Linked DNA regions of Homo sapiens: region 2 is linked to region 1. Evidence: promoter capture Hi-C in human tissues and cell types (Jung and others, 2019). All regions are on one chromosome and are shown on one strand. Each heading gives the region's core, a stretch centred on a gene start or on the middle of the fragment in contact. The rest is flanking DNA. Distances are from core to core; before and after follow the strand shown.

What was found. Contacts are between HindIII fragments. The study calls those that stand out against the background at their distance.
Region 2: a contact is called between a fragment that was not itself captured here and the fragment with the promoter of TET2 in region 1, in 1 of the 25 tissues and cell types used here (spleen).

What each region holds. Positions count from the first base shown.
Region 1 is chr4:105,143,519-105,148,887 of GRCh38, forward strand. It overlaps TET2 (tet methylcytosine dioxygenase 2), which reads left to right and starts at 3,358. Exons shown (of 11, transcript NM_001127208.3): 1 at 3,358-3,461. LOC124900868 reads right to left here. Exons shown (of 3, transcript XM_047416559.1): 2 at 1,977-3,443. The coding sequence ends at 2,755. RefSeq lists enhancers at 1-225, 3,370-3,539, 3,883-3,932 and silencers at 2,620-3,299, 4,263-4,332. The HindIII fragment of the contact is 6,833 bases long and covers 1,534-5,369 here.
Region 2 is chr4:105,720,137-105,725,505 of GRCh38, forward strand. The region is part of intron 3 of GSTCD (glutathione S-transferase C-terminal domain containing); the gene reads left to right. Among named protein-coding and RNA genes, the nearest start is that of GSTCD, 14 kb to the left of the region's middle. The HindIII fragment of the contact is 8,290 bases long and covers 1-5,369 here.

The sequences.
Region 1 (5,369 bases), core at 2,108-4,607:
GACAGCAGCAGACAGGAAACTGCCTCCACCCTGAGACTTAAAGACTGAGCAACTGAGTTAGATAGCAGGTGCGCAGGCCAATCAAGTCAATTTTCTAACACAGAGTAGCATGTTGTGGAACTTGTTCTATTAGTCTTTTTTCTCTGTTAAGGAAGCAAGGATCTCTCTGTATGGAAGCAGTGCTGCTATTTCTAGTTTGAGGAAAAAAATGGTAAAGAATTTGATAATTAATTGTTGTTAAAACAGCAAATTATATTTTAAACACAGATTGTCCACACCTGTAGGAGGAGGAATCTCAAGAATGCACACAATTAATAAAAGCTGGTTCTGAATTACCCATACAAGTGCGCACTGCGTTCAGTAAACAACTGATTTGCAAACTATATCCTTTCTTTCCCAGAAATAGCAGGAGGAAGTTTTTCAAATCAAAAAAAAAATCTAACTAAAATATTTTATACGTGAAGGCCTGCAGAATTTTACTTCCTTTTGCTGTTGAAAAATCACAATAGCCAAGAGGAGTAATGTATTTTATTTTAACTTTTAAAAAGTCATGATGGTTAAGGGTAGAGTGGAGGTGCAGAGAAAGAAGTTGGCAAGAAAATGTTCAGGGCCTGTTGTAAAACCAACTGCAACCCAAACATGATTCCAAATAGGTAAGAACACCCTGTTACAACAGAGAGCAGTTTTCAAAGAAGAAATGAGAGGGAGGTGACCTGAAAGATCATTTCCCAGTTATAACTAAAGGAACCTACGGATACTTTTATATTAAACACATGCTAATATAATATTTTCCACATATTATTAAATGTAAGAAGATATATAATTATATACTTCTATAGTCAGAAACAAAATAACTCCTAGAAGTAAATGGTTTGTTACTGTAGTAGTAGTAACTACCTGGGCACTTACCTAGTGCTCTTATTAAAAACTCACCACAACTCTGCTGTCTTACAGGTTGTTGAACAGATTGAAAGAAACCGATACCGAGAGAGTTAAGTAAAATGCACAAGGTCACACTGGAAAAGATAGAGTTAAGAGTCACTCAGCTCTGTAAAACTCCAAAGCCCATGTTTCAACAACTCTGCAATACTGTGCACTGTATAAATGTATGTTGTGGTCTTGAGAGAACTTTATTTCCTGGACTTGAAAAATACATCACAAGCCGGGCGCGGTGGCTCACGCCTGTAATCCCAGCACTCTGGGAGGTCAGGAGTTCCAGACCAGCCTGGCCAATATGGTGAAACCCCGTCTCTATTAAAAATACAAAAAATAGCTGGGCGTGGTGGCGCACGCCTGTAGTCCCAGCTACTCCGGAGGCTGAGGCAGAAGAATCGCTTGAACCCGGAAGGCCGAGGTTGCAGTGAGCCGAGATCGCGCCACTGCACTCCAGCCTGGGTGACAGAGAGAGGCTGTCTCAAGAAAGAAAGAAAAGGAAAGAAAAGAAAGAAAGAAATAAAGATCACAAAGAACTTTCAAACAGCTTAGATTTTAAAGTGCATTAACAATTTCCAAGACCTAAGTGACGCTTTAGTGTACAGCTAGAAAACATGGAATGTCATTCCCACCTGAAATGTTTAAGGGAAAATGTACTATTTCCTTAGTTTGTGCAAAATCTGAAATCTGAGTCAACTTTGTTTCAAAATGGAATAAACAAAGTTTGATTGGACCCACTAAACATTCTTCTTAGCAACAATGCGACACTTGCAAGGAGTTCCCTTTTTCACACTCTTCAAAGAGGAAATATTCCGATTTCGTAAAATTAGGGCTTCGCTTTTAAAAAAAATTACAGACCAAAAAAAGTGTGGTTACACAATATAACTAGTATTGACTTAAGGGTACTGTGATCACCATGCAGTGATCCCATAAAAGATGTGACCAAAATACCCACTTAAAATTTGAACGTCAGTCATGTAAGAACATGTAAAAGATGAAGGGAATATTTCAAAAACGACTATCTGACGTAATATGATACTTACTATGACTCATATGGGCTTTGTTCTTCATCTCATCTTCAAATAAAAAGTTGATGATTAGAAAAAGGAGCATTAGAAGGGGGAAGTAACACTACTCGGCAATAGAGAAAAACTCCGGTCAAAGGAAGAGCATAGTTACAGAGCTCCGAATGTCAGGGAAAATCAAGCATCCGTCATTCGGAATTAGCTCTGTATCGGTCGGTTTCTTCATTACTTAATTGTACGGGGGGAAACTACTTCAAAGTAAGGGCTCTTACGAGAGGCAACTTAAGCATTTGAAAGTGCAGGTTTATTTCCTCCTAGCGAGAAGTAGGGGGTCACTAGTGAGAAACCTATTTCAATCTGTGAGACGCCCCCTTCTACTCAGCCCACGTGGCTAAAGTAAACAGAAGGTGGGCCGGGGCGGGGAGAAACAGAACTCGGTCAATTTCCCAGTTTGTCGGGTCTTTAAAAATACAGGCCCCTAAAGCACTAAGGGCATGCCCTCGGTGAAACAGGGGAGCGCTTCTGCTGAATGAGATTAAAGCGACAGAAAAGGGAAAGGAGAGCGCGGGCAACGGGATCTAAAGGGAGATAGAGACGCGGGCCTCTGAGGGTAAGGTGGGCGCAAGCGGAGGTGTGGTGCGGGGAGAGGTGCCAGTGGGTGGAGGCGGGGGCCAGAGCGAGGGCACGTGCGGGTACACTCCGGAGGAGGTGGGTGCGCGCGGGGGCGTGTGCGCGGGACCTCGAAGTGGTGGTGGAGTGCAGACCAGCAAAAAGTTTCAAAGGGAAATCTTAGATGTCACGTCTTTGTCCAGGCACCCGTGCCATCCCAACCTCCCACCTCGCCCCCAACCTTCGCGCTTGCTCTGCTTCTTCTCCCAGGGGTGGAGACCCGCCGAGGTCCCCGGGGTTCCCGAGGGCTGCACCCTTCCCCGCGCTCGCCAGCCCTGGCCCCTACTCCGCGCTGGTCCGGGCGCACCACTCCCCCCGCGCCACTGCACGGCGTGAGGGCAGCCCAGGTCTCCACTGCGCGCCCCGCTGTACGGCCCCAGGTGCCGCCGGCCTTTGTGCTGGACGCCCGGTGCGGGGGGCTAATTCCCTGGGAGCCGGGGCTGAGGGCCCCAGGGCGGCGGCGCAGGCCGGGGCGGAGCGGGAGGAGGCCGGGGCGGAGCAGGAGGAGGCCCGGGCGGAGGAGGAGAGCCGGCGGTAGCGGCAGTGGCAGCGGCGAGAGCTTGGGCGGCCGCCGCCGCCTCCTCGCGAGCGCCGCGCGCCCGGGTCCCGCTCGCATGCAAGTCACGTCCGCCCCCTCGGCGCGGCCGCCCCGAGACGCCGGCCCCGCTGAGTGATGAGAACAGACGTCAAACTGCCTTATGAATATTGATGCGGAGGCTAGGCTGCTTTCGTAGAGAAGCAGAAGGAAGCAAGATGGCTGCCCTTTAGGATTTGTTAGAAAGGAGACCCGACTGCAACTGCTGGATTGCTGCAAGGCTGAGGGACGAGAACGAGGTCAGAGCGCTTCTCTTATGCCGCGAAACTCTCCCTTTCTTCTCCCCTTCGCTTTTTCTCGGGCTTCCAGGGACTGGGGAGCAAACCCTGTAGTGTCACCCACAAATACCAAGAGGGAAGAGGGAAGCTTCACAAATTACTGGAGCCTCTTCAACATGGCTGACAAATATAGTTTTAATTCCCTCTACCCCTTTTAAACCTGTAGTTCTGTGTTCTCTTCTCTCCTCCTAATGCTCGTCCCCTCATCTCCCAGAAAACTTACCTTTGTGCCTCCGACGAGCCGGTTTCCCGGCCTTTTTTAATCCTCAGAAAAGTGATTTTTAAATTTGCTTTCCTTTCTAAAATAGTTCAGCTTTGGGGGCACTACTTTTCCCTTTAATCCTCTTCCCCTGTTTCTTTCGTGTAAGTGAAACGAGTCTCCCGTTTATCCTGAACAACCTCAGAGAGAACACTGATAGGGTGTTTTTCGACCCTTTTATCAGCTGTAGGGTCTGGGTCTGGGTTTGTGTCTGCCTCCTCCTACCTTCTTATCCCCCTTTAGGGGGCTGTACGAAGTGAATGTCACAGGGAGTGGAATTGGAGTACACTGAGTGGGTTTTTTTTTTCCTTAAGTCCGCGCGTTTTGTTAGCGGCGCTGAGTGAAAGAGGAAAGAATAGTTTCTCTGGTTCCCCAAACAAGACCAGAACTCACTTTTCTCAAGGTACATAAGTCAGCGCTGGGCTGAGCCTTCCAGCCTGGGGAATGTATGTAAGAGAATTTATGGACAAATCTGTGTCCCGGCTTTGTGCTTCTCCCGAATCAGCTTCGTTTGGTTCCTTGGTAAGTGACAGGCAGACACAAAGGCAGGCGCAGGCCCGGGGAGGGGGCGGGAGGGGGTGGGGAGCGCAGCGTTGGAGTTGCAAGACTGCAAGGTCAGGGGCGCCTAAAGAAATGAAACCCAATCCCAGCAAAGAAGTGAAGAGCAGATTTATAACAGTCCCATCCAAATTTCTCTTTGGCTTCTCTCTTTGGTCTTTCATCTCTCTGCCTTTCTCTCTGTGTCTCCTCTCTACTCTTTCTTCTCTCTCTCTCATACACATACACACACACACACACACACACACCTCACTCGCATCTTGCTGAATCTTTTCACTGGGACTGCTTGTCTAGTTTTATTAAGCTAATAGGGTTTGTATGGAGAGTTTTCTACCTATGACATAATGAAGTGTGGCCTGGATAGACTCCTGGAAAGGCCGAAAATGAAATATAAGTGTTATTTGCTGGTTATTCCCCTCATGATATACTTTTAATTACATTGAGGGAGTTCTCCCTTCTTCATCTAATGTTTAAGAATTGAGAAAAGGCTTATTTTCCAGCGGTAAAATTTAGTGCATAAAATTTAGTGAAATATTTATATATTTACGTGTCTAGGGAGTGGAATACATTCATGAATTTAATATCTCAAATCACACATTGTGCTTTTTCCCCTTCAGTCAGGGATTATAATGGGAAACCCAAATTCAAAGATATTCATCAACAAATGATCCATCATAGGAATAAGATTGTATCTTAAGGGAAGTTGGGATTCACAGAGAAAAGACATTGGTTTGGTTTGGTGTGATACTGTGGGTATTGTTGCCTGGCTAATGAAATCATTACATTTGCATTTTAATGGAAAGTTGAAATACTAAGGGGAGTTATGTTCTTTTACATGTTTGTATGTGTGCTTAATAATGTTTGGAATAGAATATAAATTTAAACACAATAAATATTGATTTTTTTAAATGTTAATAAGCAGAGAACGGTTAATGAAGTGTTGGATAATCAAACTGAAGTTTAGAAGACAATTTATAGGATTAAAAAATGGATAGAAGGAAAAACACAATAATAGATATTTCTCCATAAGTCGAATTTCCAAAACTATTTGT
Region 2 (5,369 bases), core at 1,582-4,081, 580 kb after region 1:
GAGTAGGAAGATCTCTCTCTCTCTCTCTCTGTCTGTCTTACATACACACACTCACACACGCACACACGTGTGCACACACACATTCCCTCTGTGGAGGAAAAAAGAACAGGGTGAAAATAATACCAGAGTGAACATAGGAAGCTTAGCTCTCTGCAGCCTTCCAATTGGTTTTCAAGAGCTGCATTGCTTTTTGCTTTTGTTTGGGTTTTTTTCTTGGAAGCATTTCCCCCTTTTCCCTACTAAGGAATCAGATATTAGATTTCATTCTCATTATATATCACCAACAATTCAGGTATCTCTATGGACAGAAGAGACTGCTATCGAAAATCTATGTATTTGAAGGCTTTGCTTCACAAGTAAACTCGGCAGTATTCATCAATTGTCATTTTCTTAAAGAACATTTCTCTTTTCCTCAAAATTGAACCAAATTTGGCAACCAAAACAATATAAAAAGAGAGAGATCCAGGAATTGTTTAGATGTTGATTGCTATTTTAAATGCCAGATGTCATATGTCTTCACAGAGTCCATGGAGTTGAGTGGGAAGAAGACATTGATTTTTAAATTTTTTCCTAGTCAGATGATTCCTAGGTTCTCTTCTCCATGATCCCTCTCTTCTATTACCAAGTTCCGTCATTAGAGCAGTCATTTGATACATTATGAAGTACTTGGTCTTCTGTCTTCTTGACTTCTTTGGATAACTGTGTTTCCAGTTTCACCAGAATTGAATGAAAGTGGCATATCCATTCCTTTATTGAAGAAATTTATTAAAATTATTTGAATACATAAACTAATTCTCAAAATATTTTCCTTCGTTCCTTTGTATTTTTACTGGATTTTTTTTTCTTTTTTTTTTGAGATGGAGTCTCGCTCTGTCACCTAGGCTGTGTGCAGTGGTGTAATCGCAGCTCACTGCAACCTCCGCTTCCTGGGTTGAAGCAATTCTCCTGCCTCAGCCTCCCAAGTAGCTGGGATTATAGGTGCACGCCACCATGCCTGGCTAATTTTTGTATTTTTTAAGTAGAGATGGGGTTTCACCATGTTGGCCAGGCTGCTTTCGAACTCCTGACCTTGTGATCCGCCCACCTCATGTTTTCCAGAATTCATCCTTCTTTGATAAACCCTTGATATTTGTTATATTTTTCTCTTTAAATCATCTTGGGTAATAAAGTAGTCATTTTAATTCATATAGTGGTTATGTTGGCAAGCCTTTTTGCTTGCATTAACATACATTGAGGTGAATGGAGTGGCCATCCAAATGATCAGAATCAGGATCAAGTTCAACATCCGTAATCAAGGTCAAGTTACCAGAAACATAAAACTGAATCTAGGGACAGAATATTTAGTCGCAGGAATAAAGTCAAGGACATAAAAGTAAGAGTCAATTTTGCTAAATCAAGGTTTGAATTACTAAGGGTCAAAATTAGAAGAACTAGGGAAAATACCCAGTTCTGCTAAACAGAATAAAACCAAAGATGGAAAACAATAACAAGTAGAATCGATGAGGTGTTTTTTTTGTTTTTTTTTAATTTGTCAGAGACAAACATGGAAATGCTAAGGTATTATATATAAACCTGCTGCAAGCTCTTCCTTTTCAGAAAATACTTTATTACTTTACAAAGTTAACCCCTGATGGCTCAGCACCTCATAAGGAAAGGGGCCTGACGATACCCTCTCCTCTGAAAAGTCTTAGAAATAGATTTAAAAGGAATAAATTAATATGTACACTCATGTTTCCCCCCATTCAATTTATTTGCTAGAATTTTCTAGTAGATAGCGTATCAACATTATGGGAGAAATAGCAATGAATAGCTATACTAGGGCAAAATCCTACTGTTCCAATACTAGAAGATTGTATATTATTTTTCAGTTGCTACTAGTAAGCAAGTACACTTTGACAGAAATATTTAAAACATTATTGTACGCCTATAAGACAGAAAGTTGCATTTTATCATTTTATAAAATCTTGTAATTTGACCACTTATGATTTAATTTTCTACATTTTAACTTCTAATGCTTTGAATTGAGTTTAAATACACACATACACACACACACACAGACATCTTTATTAGCTTAGGTAAAATCATTCCTCTTTTAGAAATTGATTTTTTAGCAAAACTAAATACCTCTTCCTGTGTTCCCATCGGCATAAAGTTGGGAACCTCACTTTTTGCTGGCATATTGCAAAAATGGTTGATGCCACTTATTTAGTGGTAAATTTGTATTTTCTGTGTCTATTCCTATTCATTAGGTCCTCAAGAGCTTTTAGCTTTAACTCACTAGTTCTAATTTATAAGTAAAAAACAGAGAGCTGGGATTATATTTTCATTTAGATAGGTTGTTTACTGTTTTTTCTCTGCTTACACTGCTCACCTAAACATCTGTGAGTATATTTTCAAAAAAGGAAGTATGACTAAGGAAATGATATAAAATAAGAACAAATATTTTATATAGTAAGTGATTGTAAAGGAATGCAAAGGAGGAGATATTTTGAATAGATGCAACATCTTGCTTCTCTTTTTATTCTGACAAATTTTTCTGCCCTTTATTGACAATTAACTACAGAGTTACTAAAATTTTATTTTTGCTTTGATAGCTATGCTTTTTTTTTAAACCTTTGTTTTAAAAATAGATCATCTTTTTTTTTTCTTGTCCTTAAAGAACTCTGTGATATTTATAATGGTTTTGATCTTATGAGCCAGGTAACTATTTGGTAATCATTCCTTATGAAGAAATTTAATTTTCATTTCACAGAGTTTTCATTAGCAACTTCCTTAAATATATCTTCATGAGTGTAATGAATGTGGTTCAGTACCTTCTGAGCTATCTGGATATTAGTAGAGTGGCCTGGCATGTTGATAAATGGAGTGACCTGTCAGAGTAAACCTCCTCAATTTCTTGTAAACATGAATTATTGTTATTTAATTGCAACTTCATTTCAAAAGAAAGGAAAGATGCCACGTACATCTAACAAATAAAAATAAGTCACTAGAACGAAGAGTACAGGAAAGATGAGGAAAAGAGAAAATTTCTTGTGTGATTATCATGTCTAAAGATCCATTCCCTTAGCACCTAATCTATTTCCAAGCAATTCACAATTCTTGAGAGAATTAATAAACTTTTTGGCTCTCAGGGTACCTTAGAGAGTATTTTTCAAACTTTTTTTTTACTTTAACTCAGTAAATACAGATGGCCTTCCATATCCATTGGTTCTGTATTCATGTATTCAACCAACCGCAGATTTAAAATATTTGGAAAAAAAATTGCATCTGTACTGAACATGTACTGACTTTTTTCTTGTCGTGATCCCCTAAACAATACAGAATAACAATTATTTGCACAGTGTTTATATTGTATTAGGTATTAGAAGTAATCTAGGATTTAAAGTATAGGAGAGGATGTGTATAGGTTATATGCAAATACTATACCATTTTATATCAAGGACATGAGTATGAGTATCTGTGGATTTGGGTTTCTGATACAGGTCTTGGAACCAATCCTCCATGGATACTGAGGGACAACTGTAATACATTTTACAAGTTGGATAATTATAGAAATAAATGTATATCTTTAAATAATATGTAAAAAAATATATAAATAATTACAAAATAACTTATAGGATGTGTACTCTGATATTTTCTATTTCATTTTTTAAAAACCTACTATGTTGATTTCACAACCCCTAAATGAGTGATAAATAGCAACTTGAAAAATACTGACTGAGGGGATTACTCTCTGAAGGTAACAAATGGATTCTTTATCATTTGTTCATTCACTCAACAGGGTATTATTTGCAAGGCAGTGTTTTAAGTGCTTCAGTATTCAAAGAGAGTTACAGTCCTTGTTCTTATAATCAATTACTTGTGCTCATTTAATCTTAAAGTCCACTTAAAATACAGTATAATATATATGTATGAATTTTTTATTTTCTGTCCTTTCTGTCTCATGCTCTGATATTATTGTGAAATATATCTGTAGAGATTTCCTGTGACTTGACCTTTTTATTTAAAGGTCATAATCTGTTCATAATCTGTTCATAATCATAAGTCATAATGTGTTTGAGACATCATAATGGTTTCTACGGAAACATTTGTTGCCTCTCAAAGAAGCAAGAACACTCTAAATTTTCAAGAAAATAGAATTTGGTGGTAGTGCTAGGGAGAAAGCATCTGACCAAGAGAAAACAAAAATATATGAGTTTGTATCAGGAAGAACAATTTAAAATTTTTCTAATTTGAAAAAATAAAAGTCTTACTTTAAGTGCTGCTTTATAAAAAAAAAATTCTATAGTGCTAGTTATCTTTTTTAGTTTTAAATATTTACAATTTTCTCTTTTATCTTTTTACTATTTTCTTTAGTAAAATGTTCTCCTTACCTCATTGTGTAATTTTTAAAAATATGGTTCTGAAAGATGCTTCTTACATTATTGGTAAGGAATATCATTTAGATTATGCCTAATAGTTCACACATACAGAGAAGGTAGTTTCACAAACACAAAAAAATGGAACTTTAGATCATTATTAATAGTACAAGCTCTCCATTTTTACACTTCTGCAGTGAGCTACAAAATTTCTATGAGACCCCTCAAAATACATCAATGATTGCAGACTACAGATATTAAATTGTGATAATTTAAACGTGTTACATTATTTGTGTTGAGGAATTTAATACTTATTTTAATTCTTTCCCCATTAAACAGTTAAACTAATTTGCATAAGTATATATTAAGGATTTTAGGTTTTTGATATAATGTTGTCCAATTAACTCTCTATATGCAGTGTGTTAAGAACTTATCAAGTATATAGAGGGTCAGGAACAGAGGAATGTGTTCATGGCCATGAATTATAGATGAAAGGGTTTCCAGATTGGAATGCAGTTGATTATAGAGGAGTTCTTAGAGAGGGGTAAAAACATACTACCAATGAAAGATGTAGACAATTGAATATAAGATGTAAAGTTTTCCAAAATGATTTTCAGTTGTACTGTTTATAGACATTTGCAAATGCCATTGTTATTTATATTGATTCTTTTTGGAATTATTGTATTCTTCTTTTTCTATTGATGGTTGTTTTCCATTGTATAGCTGTACCACAGTTTATCCATTCATCTACTGAAGGGCATCTTGGTTAATTCCAAGTTTTGGCAATTATGAATAAAGATGCTATTAACATCTATCTGTGTTCAGGTTTTTGTGTGGACATAAATGTTCAACTCATTTGAAGCACAATTACTGGATTGTATGGTAAGAGTATATTTACCTTTGTAAGGAACTACCAAACTGTCTTTCAAAGTGGCTGTACTATTTTTCATTCCCACCAGCAGTAAATGAGAGTTCCTGTTGTTCCACATGCGCACCATCATTTGGAGTTGT